Regions from separate parts of the Homo sapiens genome. Here region 1 is linked to region 2. Evidence: promoter capture Hi-C in human tissues and cell types (Jung and others, 2019). All regions are on one chromosome and are shown on one strand. Each heading gives the region's core, a stretch centred on a gene start or on the middle of the fragment in contact. The rest is flanking DNA. Distances are from core to core; before and after follow the strand shown.

The links. The method cuts DNA at HindIII sites, captures the fragments that hold promoters and counts their contacts. A contact is called where the count stands out against the background at its distance.
Region 1: a fragment that was not itself captured here is called in contact with the fragment with the promoter of TXNDC8 in region 2 in 1 of the 25 tissues and cell types used here (aorta).

Annotation. Positions count from the first base shown.
Region 1 is chr9:110,374,355-110,379,892 of GRCh38, forward strand. SVEP1 (sushi, von Willebrand factor type A, EGF and pentraxin domain containing 1) reads right to left here. Exons shown (of 48, transcript NM_153366.4): 44 at 4,993-5,163; 45 at 2,917-3,012; 46 at 1,014-1,109. Among named protein-coding and RNA genes, the nearest start is that of TXNDC8, 39 kb to the left of the region's middle. RefSeq lists an enhancer at 3,064-3,233. The HindIII fragment of the contact is 4,580 bases long and covers 1-4,153 here.
Region 2 is chr9:110,335,877-110,340,886 of GRCh38, forward strand. TXNDC8 (thioredoxin domain containing 8) reads right to left here and starts at 1,987. Exons shown (of 6, transcript NM_001424031.1): 1 at 1,897-1,987. The coding sequence starts at 1,920. LOC124902245 (a long non-coding RNA gene) reads left to right here and starts at 328. Exons shown (of 2, transcript XR_007061728.1): 1 at 328-2,361; 2 at 2,649-2,766. The HindIII fragment of the contact is 11,230 bases long and covers 1-5,010 here.

The DNA of each region.
Region 1 (5,538 bases), core at 614-3,113, 38 kb after region 2:
AAGTAAAAAAATAGGCTGGATGCAGTGGCTCATGCTTGTAATCTCAAAACTTTGGGAGGCCAAGGTGGGTGGATCACTTGAGGTCAGGAGTTCAAGATCAGCCTGGCCAACATGGTGAAACTCTGTCTCTACTAAAAATAGAAAAATTAGCAGGGTATGGCAGCAGGTGACTGTAATCCCAGCTACTCCAGAGGCTGAGGCAGGAGAATTGCTTGAACCTGGGAGGCAGAGGTTTCAGTGAGTCAAGATTGCGCCACTGCAGTCCAGCCTGGGTGACAAGAGTGAAACTCTGTTCTCAAAAAACAAAACAAAACAAAACAAAAACATGCTGGGGAGGTTGTGGAGAAAAGGGAACACTTATACACTGTTGGTAAGAGTGTAAATTAGTTCAACCATTGAGGAAAGCAGTACGGCGATTCCTCAAAAACCTAAAAACAGAACTACCATTCAACCCAAGCAATCCCATTACTGGGTATATACCCAAGATAATAGAAATCATTCTACCATAAAGACACATGCTCGTGTATGTTCATTTCAGCACTATGCACAATAGCAAAGACACGGAATCAACCTAAATGCTCATCAATGGTAGACTGGATAAAGTGTTTTTTTTTTCATTTTAACTTAAATTGTATTTATGTATAACCTTGTTCTTTCTAAAGAGTAAGCATGAATTTAGTAATTTAGCTTCTTAGAGATTAAAATAAGTATTATTCTGAACCTCTGTGTAATGTCTTCTCTATGCTCTGCAAAATGAAGCAGATGACATAAAGAAGACAGATAATTGAGTAGACTTAGATGCTATTCTTCGGCACATGACCTGGAAACGTGTTTAGGCAACCATAAAATTCAGTGTTGAGACACGAATCAAGGGATCATCTTGAGGAATTTTTGAGAAACATCAGTACTTTTTCATTTTGCCACCACTTCTGAGTCTAAGTCACACTCTTCAATGTCCTCTGGAGTTTCATGGGCCTGAGCCACCAAGAAAACAAACCATGAAAGAGGCCTACCTGTATGACAGCGAGACCCCGTCCAGCCAGGCGGGCAGTCACACTGGTAAGGGGCCACACAGCGACCTCCGTTCAGACAGGGAAGAATGCAGATTGCTAAAAAAAAAAAAAAAAAAAAAAAAAGGAGGCAGGGGGGATTGAAATGGCGTTGATCAAAGTACACATCTTAGATAGGTTCAAGGGTTCAGAAAACATTTTGCAGGAGTGAAACCTTATATGACTCACTAAATAAGTTTCCTGCATGTGTTCTGCTTATTAATGAGTATCATTGGGAAAATACAATCAGGAAAGTAAGCCTGGATTCTTAGCCACATGTAATGACTTTAAGGCCAAATCCACTTTCAGTGAAGACACTCCGTAATCAGTGTCTGCAAAGTGCTTTGCTTTAACTCTTCACAAAATAAGCAGAACGGTCTCCATTTATTATAGTTTCAAATTTCCATTACAAATTACATAAAATGTTCTAAGAGGATTTGGCTGCCTTGAGGCTCTTCCTGTCTTGAACTAAATGTGAGAATGGGAATCAGATAGGCTGTAACATAGGGTTGGAGTTTGCAACATTTTGGTAGCAATGGGACAACACACCCTTTATTTCCGAGAAGCTGAGGACTGACGGTGACTGAATGATGCCTCCCGAACCCTGTTCATGACTATCATTCCTCCTCCTAGAAATCACTGAAATCTTTAAAGAGGCATAGTCTGTTTAAAAGATGTGAGTTTGTTGCTTTGCTCCCCAAAATCAAGTTCCCTAACCCCAATAGTCTTTGCATCACCTAGGAGTTGGTTAGCAATGCAGATATCAGGTACCAACTCAGATCTGCTGATCTCCCAGATGATCTGTATGCATAGCAAAGCTTGGGAAGCACTGGTATAATGAAGGAGGGCAGGCACATGCTCAGTGAGCCAGACCAGCTAAGGCAGCCAAGCCAGACCTGTCGTGGGGTACCCCAAAGTCAATGCTTACTAAGTCTTTGGACTCTTGACATAAGGGCAGGCTAAGTCTGGGAGCTCTAGGTGAAATGGAATGATTGGGGTGAGCTGGAAGAGAAAAGTGTGATTTCTCTTCTTTTTTAATCATTTGAGAATACTTGTTTTGGTGAGTTGTTAGCAGCCTAAATTTATTTCCATCATACATTTTCCTTTATAGATTAGTTGAAAAAGTCACACTTAAAACATTTTAGTCTCTTATAAAATTCCTGCCCTGTAGGAAAAACTGGTATAGACCAATGGCCATCACATGAATCACTCTTAATGGTTTACATACACTGCTCCTGTTGAAATATGAAACCATTTTATCCTTATATATATTTTAAGATATTGAAATAAAGTGTAGTTGAGATATTTAAAAATTTAACATCACTATCCATACCTCCCTGGAATTTCAAATTGTTTCTATAAGGATCAAAATTCTATATTAATTTACCAAGTATGGATATAGGAGTGCCAGCTTTTCTTATTTTCTTAATGAGTAGAAACTATTCTTAACAACAAAGAGGAAATGGTGAGCTGCAAATATTACCTGCAAAGTACATGTTTTGCAGTGGTGCACGTTTATACCAACTGCAGCAATGACTGACATAGCACATAGTAGACCTTGAGTTAAGGGAAGAGGATAGCTTGGAGACTTTACAACAAGCTCCTTCTCAAGAAGACTTTTGCAAATTTGTGCCAGGGAACATGTGAAAATGACTTTAGATGGATCTTAATAACAGTATTTTCAAAGTCATTAATATTCTAGATCTTCTGCAACCTGTTGACACATATGTGCTCTGTTTGGTGTGGACAAGGACTTACAGCAAATGAATTCTTCCCAACAGTACAACCATTTCCTGGTAACTCCCCTCAGGTGGGAGCATCCAGGCAATTTGTCAGGACTCAAAGTAAGATCTGAAGAGCAACTCACGTTCTTCACAGAGGCGCCCCATCCAGCCCTCTGGACAGGAACAAGCATTTGGGCGTTGGCAGATGCCCCCATTCTGACATGGAAATCGACAGACAGCTGGAAAAGAAGCAGGATGGGTCACAAATGTAGGGAATTATGAAGGGAAGGAGTCAGAAAATAGAATTGCCCCTTTATATCTCATACTATTTCCTTGAGTCAAGCTTTCAGGAAGAGAGACAAAAATCGAATCTCAGGAGGGAATTTCAGTATGTGGAGAAGTACAGCATTTTATTGGCTGCTATTATTTCAGTTTTCCCTGTAGCTTTATTGAGGTGCAACAAATAAAAATTGTATATATTTTTTACAACCTGATGTTTTGATTTATGTATAGATTGTGAAATAATCACCACAATGGAGCTAATTAGCACATTCATCCCCTCACATAGTTATTGTTTTCTTTCTTTCTTTTTTGTGGTGAGAACACAAGATCTATCCTTTCAGCAAATTTTCAGTATACAATACAGTATTGTTAACTACAGTCACATTGCTGGACATTAGAACTCCAGAACTTATTCATCTTGCATAACTGAAACTTTGATACCTTGAGCAACATCTCCCTATCCTCACCCCCTCCCAGCTCCTGGGAACCACCATCTACTCTCTGCTTCTATGAGTTTGACTGTTTTGGATTCCACCTATCAGCAAAGTCAGGCAGTATATGTCATTCTGTGTCTGGCTTATTTCATGTAGCATGATGTCCTCCAGGTTAGTCCATGTTGTTGTAAATGGCAGGATTTTCTTCTTTTGCAAAGCTGAATAATATTTCATTGTATCTGCCTATTTTTATCTGCATGTCTATCTAATCTATCTTCTTAATCATCATCATCATCATCTATCAACATACATTTTTTTATCCATTTATCTGTCAACAGACATTTATGTTGTTCAATATCACACACACAACACTCATTCTGACTTTAGACTTTAAGTGAAGTCTGGGATATTCCTTTAAGATGTCCCCCCTCAAAAGGCTCTACATTCTCTTACATCCCATGTATTGGTGATCTCACTTCTCATTGTTGCTGCCAGACAATGAGTCCTCTTTCTCTTGCAATAGCCCCTGTTTCTTTTGAGGCTCATGCCATTCATCCATTGACTTCCTCAATCTTCCCTGCTTCACCAGTTATTAAAGTCCAAATCTGTTTTTCTTGTAAATTTGTTTGAGTTCATTGTAGATTCTGGATATTAGCCCTTTGTCAGATGAGTACATTGCAAAAAATTTCCCCCATGCTGTAGGTTGCCTGTTCACTCTGATGGTAGTTTCTTTTGCTGTGCAGAAGCTCTTTAGTTTAATTAGATCCCATTTGTCAATTTTGTCTTTTGTTGCCATTGCTTTTGGTGTTTTAGACATGAAGTCCTTGCCCATGCCTAAGTCCTGAATGGCAGGTGGGAATTGAACGATGAGAACACATGGACACAGGAAGGGGAACATCACACTCTGGGGACTGTTGTGGGGTGGGGGGAGGGCGGAGGGATAGCATTAGGAGATATACCTAATGTTAAATGACGAGTTAATGGGTGCAGCACACCAACATGGCACATGTAGACATATGTAACAAACCCGCATGTTGTGTGCATGTACCCTAAAACTTAAAGTATTAAAAAAAAAAAAAGTCCAAATCTGAACAGTTTGTGGTCAACTCATCCAACAACTCAATTATTTAGTTCCTTGGTTTTATCTGTGTGTACTAGCGTACTTCTCGACTTCTAGCAAATATTTGTAGAATGAATGAAATAATTATTATGATGTATAAAAATCATATTTTATTATAAAAGTGTAAGTTTTAGAAGGATATAATACTAGGGTGCCTCATTACCTCTTTCTATTTTGCAACATTTCAAGCACAGAACCTAAGAGTTCTATGTGCTTTTAAAACTCAAACCATAACATTAAAAGAAAATTACACAGCTGCTAAAAGAAATTTTAAAGCCAAGGAAAAATAAAGTAGTATGCATATTAATTGCTGGACAAATCAGATTTCTATACACATTTCCCTGCAGTTTCACTAAGAAATAACCATTCAAATATTTCCTTACCTCTGCAAATAGGAGGTGATGTCCATGTTCCATTTTCTAAACAAACACTCCTCAGGAAACCCTCCAACATGTATCCACTGTAACATGAGTAGGTGATCATGTCTCCATATTGATAATGTACGCCTCGAGCAATTGCATTTTCTACGTGAGCTGGTGGACCACATGAGATTTCTACAGGATAACAAAACAACAATTAAGCTTGTGCTATTAACACAGACTGAGAACACAGTCTCATCTCTCAGAATGAATTAAAGAGCAAAAATAAAATACATAAGGGAAACATTTTCACCTACTTATCTAGAATAGTAAGAACTAAAAGAATTAACTGCTGCTGTTGAGAAAAATTGGACACACAAAGATCAAAGGTTTTTTGTCTTCTGATTCAAATGTTGAAGGTGAGCCTGTTTTAAACCTAAGGAAAGCAGTCTGTAGGACACCAAGAATTAGCTCTTGTACCTCATCAAATAAATGGCTGCAAGAGACTTTCAAAACAGGATGCTTATTAAATTAGGAGAGAAAGCATGATGATTGTAGTCTACTGTTTCA
Region 2 (5,010 bases), core at 737-3,236:
ATACAGTTTGGCTGAGTCCCCACCCAAATCTCATCTTGAATTGTAGCTCCCATAATCCCCACATGTCATGGGAGAGACCTAGTGGGAGGTAAATGAATTATGGGGGTGGGTTTTTCCCATGCTGTTCTCATGACAGTGAGTCAGTCTAAAAATATCTGACGGTTTTATAAAGGGCAGTTCCCCTGCACACGCTGTCTTGCCTGCCGCCATGTCAGACATGCCTTTGCCCCTCCTTCGCCTTCACCATGATTGTGAGGTCTTCCCAGCCATGTGGAACCGTGAGTTCATTAGATCTTTTTTTCTTTATAAATTACCAAGTATTGGGCATTTCTTCATAGCAGTATGCAAATAGACTAATACAACATGCCTGCTCTATAATAGCCTTGACAATTATGTGGCTACTTTGTTTAGTTTCAATCAGGTGAAAGTGATGACTCAAAGAAGATGCACTCTCTTTCTTTATCAATATTCCTCTGGGAGGGAGTAACTAACTTTTCAGAGAACCTTGCCAAGCCTTTATTTCTCACTTGCTTCTGAAGTTGTAAGGTAGATGCTATCCTCACAAACTCCCAACACTCTTCACTTTCCAGTAGTTGTTGTTTGGGTGTGAGCTGGCCTAATTGGACCCATGAACTTGACTTGACTAAACTATCTGAAGGGAATACTCTCATAGTATAGGTATTTATTTAACATATGCGTATTGAGGCCTATACTATGCCAGCTACTGCACAAACTGCTAGGATACCACTGTGGACAAAAACAAAACAAAACAAAACAAAAACTAGGCATTCTGTCTCCATGGAGTTTACATTTTAGAATGGGAAGCTTACTATAAGGTCAATAGGTAATATTTGTAGTATATTAGTGCTAATTGCTAATAAAGAAAATAAAAAGAAAATGAAGTAGGAAGGAAGAATGGGGGTTGGATTACAACTGTAGTCTGGATGGCCAAGGTCAACCTCAAAGAGAAGGTGGCATCTGAATAAAGATGGGATGGAGATCAGGGCCTCTGGAAAGGTCCCTGGGGAGGAGATGAAAGGTCTTCTGAGGGAATAAGGCTCCAGGCTATTCTGTGACATCCCCAGAATATTAAAACAATAAGTGTCAAAAGCATTAGCAAATGTGTGATGTTTCAAAACATGTTCTTATGTCGAAGTTACAGGGCAGTACTCTCTTTCAATCTGGTCAGTGTCATTTTTGTGATCTGTATAGCCACCTTTGGGGAAAATGTCACAAGTCTAAATCTGAGGCTGCTGGTGGACATGAGGCTCAGGCCCCAAACCCCCTCCCCTCCTCCAGCTCTTGACTTCTTGTAATGAGGGCAGGCATCAGAAGGTCTGGGTTCTAATGCCCACACCACCTCTTAAACGAACTAGCCCTGAACCTCTCTTTTAGAGGCAATTTTCTCCTTTATAAATCAAGAATTATCTCTGTCCTATACATGAATTTAGATTTGTTGTGACAGCAACATTGGGCTGTTCCCAATTTTCCCACCCCATTCCACATCTGGGGTTTCTATTATTTTTCCTTGGATAAGAGAAAAGATGTGGACTTCCTTACTTCCATGGAATTTTCCAAGCACAACTGAGGTACGATCCATGGGATCAGATACAGGATGGGATGTACTAGGAGCTGGTCTGGGATTCACCTGAAGTCAGGCAGGAAATAAAAGTCCAGGAGGAAGAAAGCCCTTCTTTATCAATTTGACCCTTGGCTGCTTTTCTTGATAGTACCATCCCTCAAGGAACAAGATAAAGAACAAGAATTTAGAACTCTCCCCTTGCTACAATGCAATGATAGAATACTGGATAGAGAGAACACATTCTTAAAGTTTTTCAAATCTGTTCCCAAGATGTCCACATTTGAAATACTCAGTGAAGCCAAATAAATACTTGCCGTGTCTTTAATAATCTGTACCATGATTACACCAGGGAAGTGCTGATGAAAATCCCCTGTTGGTTTAGTTGGATCACTGTAGCTGTCTCCTATTTATTACAGTATCCTGCCTGGAATACATGGATAACTTCTCTATGACATCATTAAACATGTCATCTCAGAACCTGGAACTTTGGCAGACTTTGGATCCTATTTCACTTTTATGCCATGACTAGTTCATTTGTGGACAGCCAAGAATCAGAAAACTGAGGGCTTTATATGCAGAATCAGTAATGTGTTTGCTTTATTTTCATCTTTTATAACCTATTTCTAAATATCCTTCTCCCTTCTCTAATCCCTCCATCCCATCACCAAATGAGAAGTAAGCAGAGTAATATTAAATAGATGAGATTTTCACTTAAGAATTTGAAGATTTTGCTGTTGAGAAAAATACTAAAGTCTTAACCCTATAATAATGAGTTTCCTGTAAGTTTGATTTCATGAGTCATAAATTCCCTGAACTTTGTTATTTTGCTCTAATTATTTAGAGAGTAAAGAAATGTCACTTTTATGCTCTAGATCAAGGGTTGGCAAATGTTTTCTCTAAGGGAACAGATACTATTTTAGTTTTATGGGCCTCATACAGTCTTTGTTGCATGTTCCTTATGTTTTTGCAACCTTTAAAAAATGTAAAAACCATTCGCAGCTAGTAGGATGTACAAAGAACAGCAGCAGTTTGCTGACCCCTGCACTTGATGATTTGCCATTTTCAGAACTGATGTCAGAAAAATTCTGAACATGACCATGGCCAATGTTCTTCAAATCTACAGAGCAACAAGAACAACCAAAATGAGAAATAGTAGATTCTATAATAAAACAAAAATAGCAAAATCCTTCTTTCTGTTTTTCTATATATGCAGCTCTGGGCCTTCAATCATGTGTTGCATGAAAACTGTCAGATGGAGACAGTGGCTGCCTCTGTAGAGGTATTTGAAGTATGCATGTAACAAAATATCACATGTACCCCATAAATACGTAGAAGTATTATGTATTGATATGGTTTGGCTGTGTCCCCACTCAAATCTCATCTTGAATTGTAGCTCCCATAATTCCCAAGGGTTGTGGGAGGGACCGGTGGGAGATAATTGAATAATGGGGGCAGTTCTTCCATACTGTTCTCATGGTAGTGAATACATCTCATGAGATCTGATGGTTTTATAAGACGTTTCCCCATTTGCTTGGCTCTCATTCTCTCTTGCCTGCTGCCATGTAAGACGTGACTTTCACCTTCTGCCAGAATTGTGAGGCCTCCCCAGCCACATGGAACTGTGAATCTATTAAACCTCTTTTTCTTTATAAATTACCTAGACTTGGGTATGTCTTTATCAGCAACGTGAAAAGAGACTAATACACGTATTAACAAAAAAATTTTTTTTATTATAGTTTAAGTTTTAGGGTACATGTGCACAATGTGCAGGTTAGTTACAAATGTATACATGTGCCATGTTGGTGTGCTGCACCCAGTAACTCGTCATTTAACATTAGGTATATCTCCAAATGCTATCCCTCCTCCCTCCCCCCACCCCACAACAGGCCCCGGTGTGTGATGTTCCCCTTCCTGTGTCCATGTGTTCTCATTGTTCAATTCCCACCTATGAGTGAGAACATGCGGTGTTTGGTTTTTTGTCCTCGTGATAGTTTGCTGAGAATGATGCTTTCCAGCTTCATCCATGTCCCTACAAAGGACATGAACTCATCCTTTTTTATGGCTGCATAGTATTTCATGGTGTATATGTGCCACATTTTCTTAATCCAGTCTATCATTGTTGGACATTTGGGTTGGTTCCAAGTCTTTGCTATTGTGAATAGTGCCGCAATAAACATACATGTGCATGTGTCTTTATAGCAGCATGATTTATAATCCTTTGGGTATATACCCAGTAATGGGATTGCTGGGTCAAATGGTATTTCTAGTTCTAGATCCCTGAGGAATCGCCACACTGACTTCCACAATGGTTGAACTAGTTTACAGTCCCACCAACAGCCCAAAAGTGTTCCTATTTCTCCACATCCTCTCCAGCACCTGTTGTCTCCTGACTTTTTAATGATCGCCGTTCTAACTGGTGTGAGATGGTATCTCATTGTGGTTTTGATTTGCATTTTTCTGATGGCCAGTGATGATGAGCATTTTTTCATGTGTCTTTTGGCTGCATAAATGTCTTCTTTTGAGAAGTATCTGTTCATATCCTTCGCCCACTTGTTGATAGGGTTGTTTTTTTCTTGTAAATTTGTTTGAGTTCATTGTAGATTCTGGATATTAGCCCTTTGTCAGATGAGTAGATTGCAAAAATTTTCTCCCATTCTGTAGGTTGCCTGTTCACTCTGATGATAGTTTCTTTTGCTGTGCAGAAGCTCTTTAGTTTAATTAGATCCCATTTGTCAATTTTGGCTTAAAAAATTAAAAAAGGTACTTGAAGTATTTTCAATGTCTTTGTTCATTGCTTGTTCTCTCTCGTTTTCACTGGGATGCATCCTCCATCACAGCCAGAAATTTTATTCATGCTTATATATTGTAGAGCTTATCCTCATCTATTTCTCCTCCATCTTTTCTCTCATTTTCATTCAAGAAGGAAAAATGGATGTTGACACAAACTGAACATCTTCCAAGCAGGGTTTCTTAACCACAGCATTTCTGACGCTTTGGGCCAATAATGCTTTGTTATAGGGGGCTGTCCTGTGCATTGTAGGCTGTTTAGCAGCATTCCTGACTTCTACCCACTAGATGTCAGTAGCACCTCCAAGTGGTAATAACCACAAGTGTCTCCAGGGGGGCAAAATTGTCCCCACTGGAAAACCGCTACTTCAAAGTGTGAGCTCCATTGTAAGCATTATTTTCATACATCTTATAAGTGCCCAGTTAGCTAAGGTAACTGTGTCCATCTACAGGTAAGATGGTCCAGGTACAGCAAGTTTCGATAACTTACGATTGGTAGAATTAATTTGGAATCCAAGCCTGGGTTGCTTCTCATGTAGGAAGGAACACAGGGTCGGCTAAAATATATAGGTCTCTAAGAAAGCCATTTAGCACTGGATGATCTGAATTCAGAGTGAATTCCTTTTTTCTCTGCACCAGGA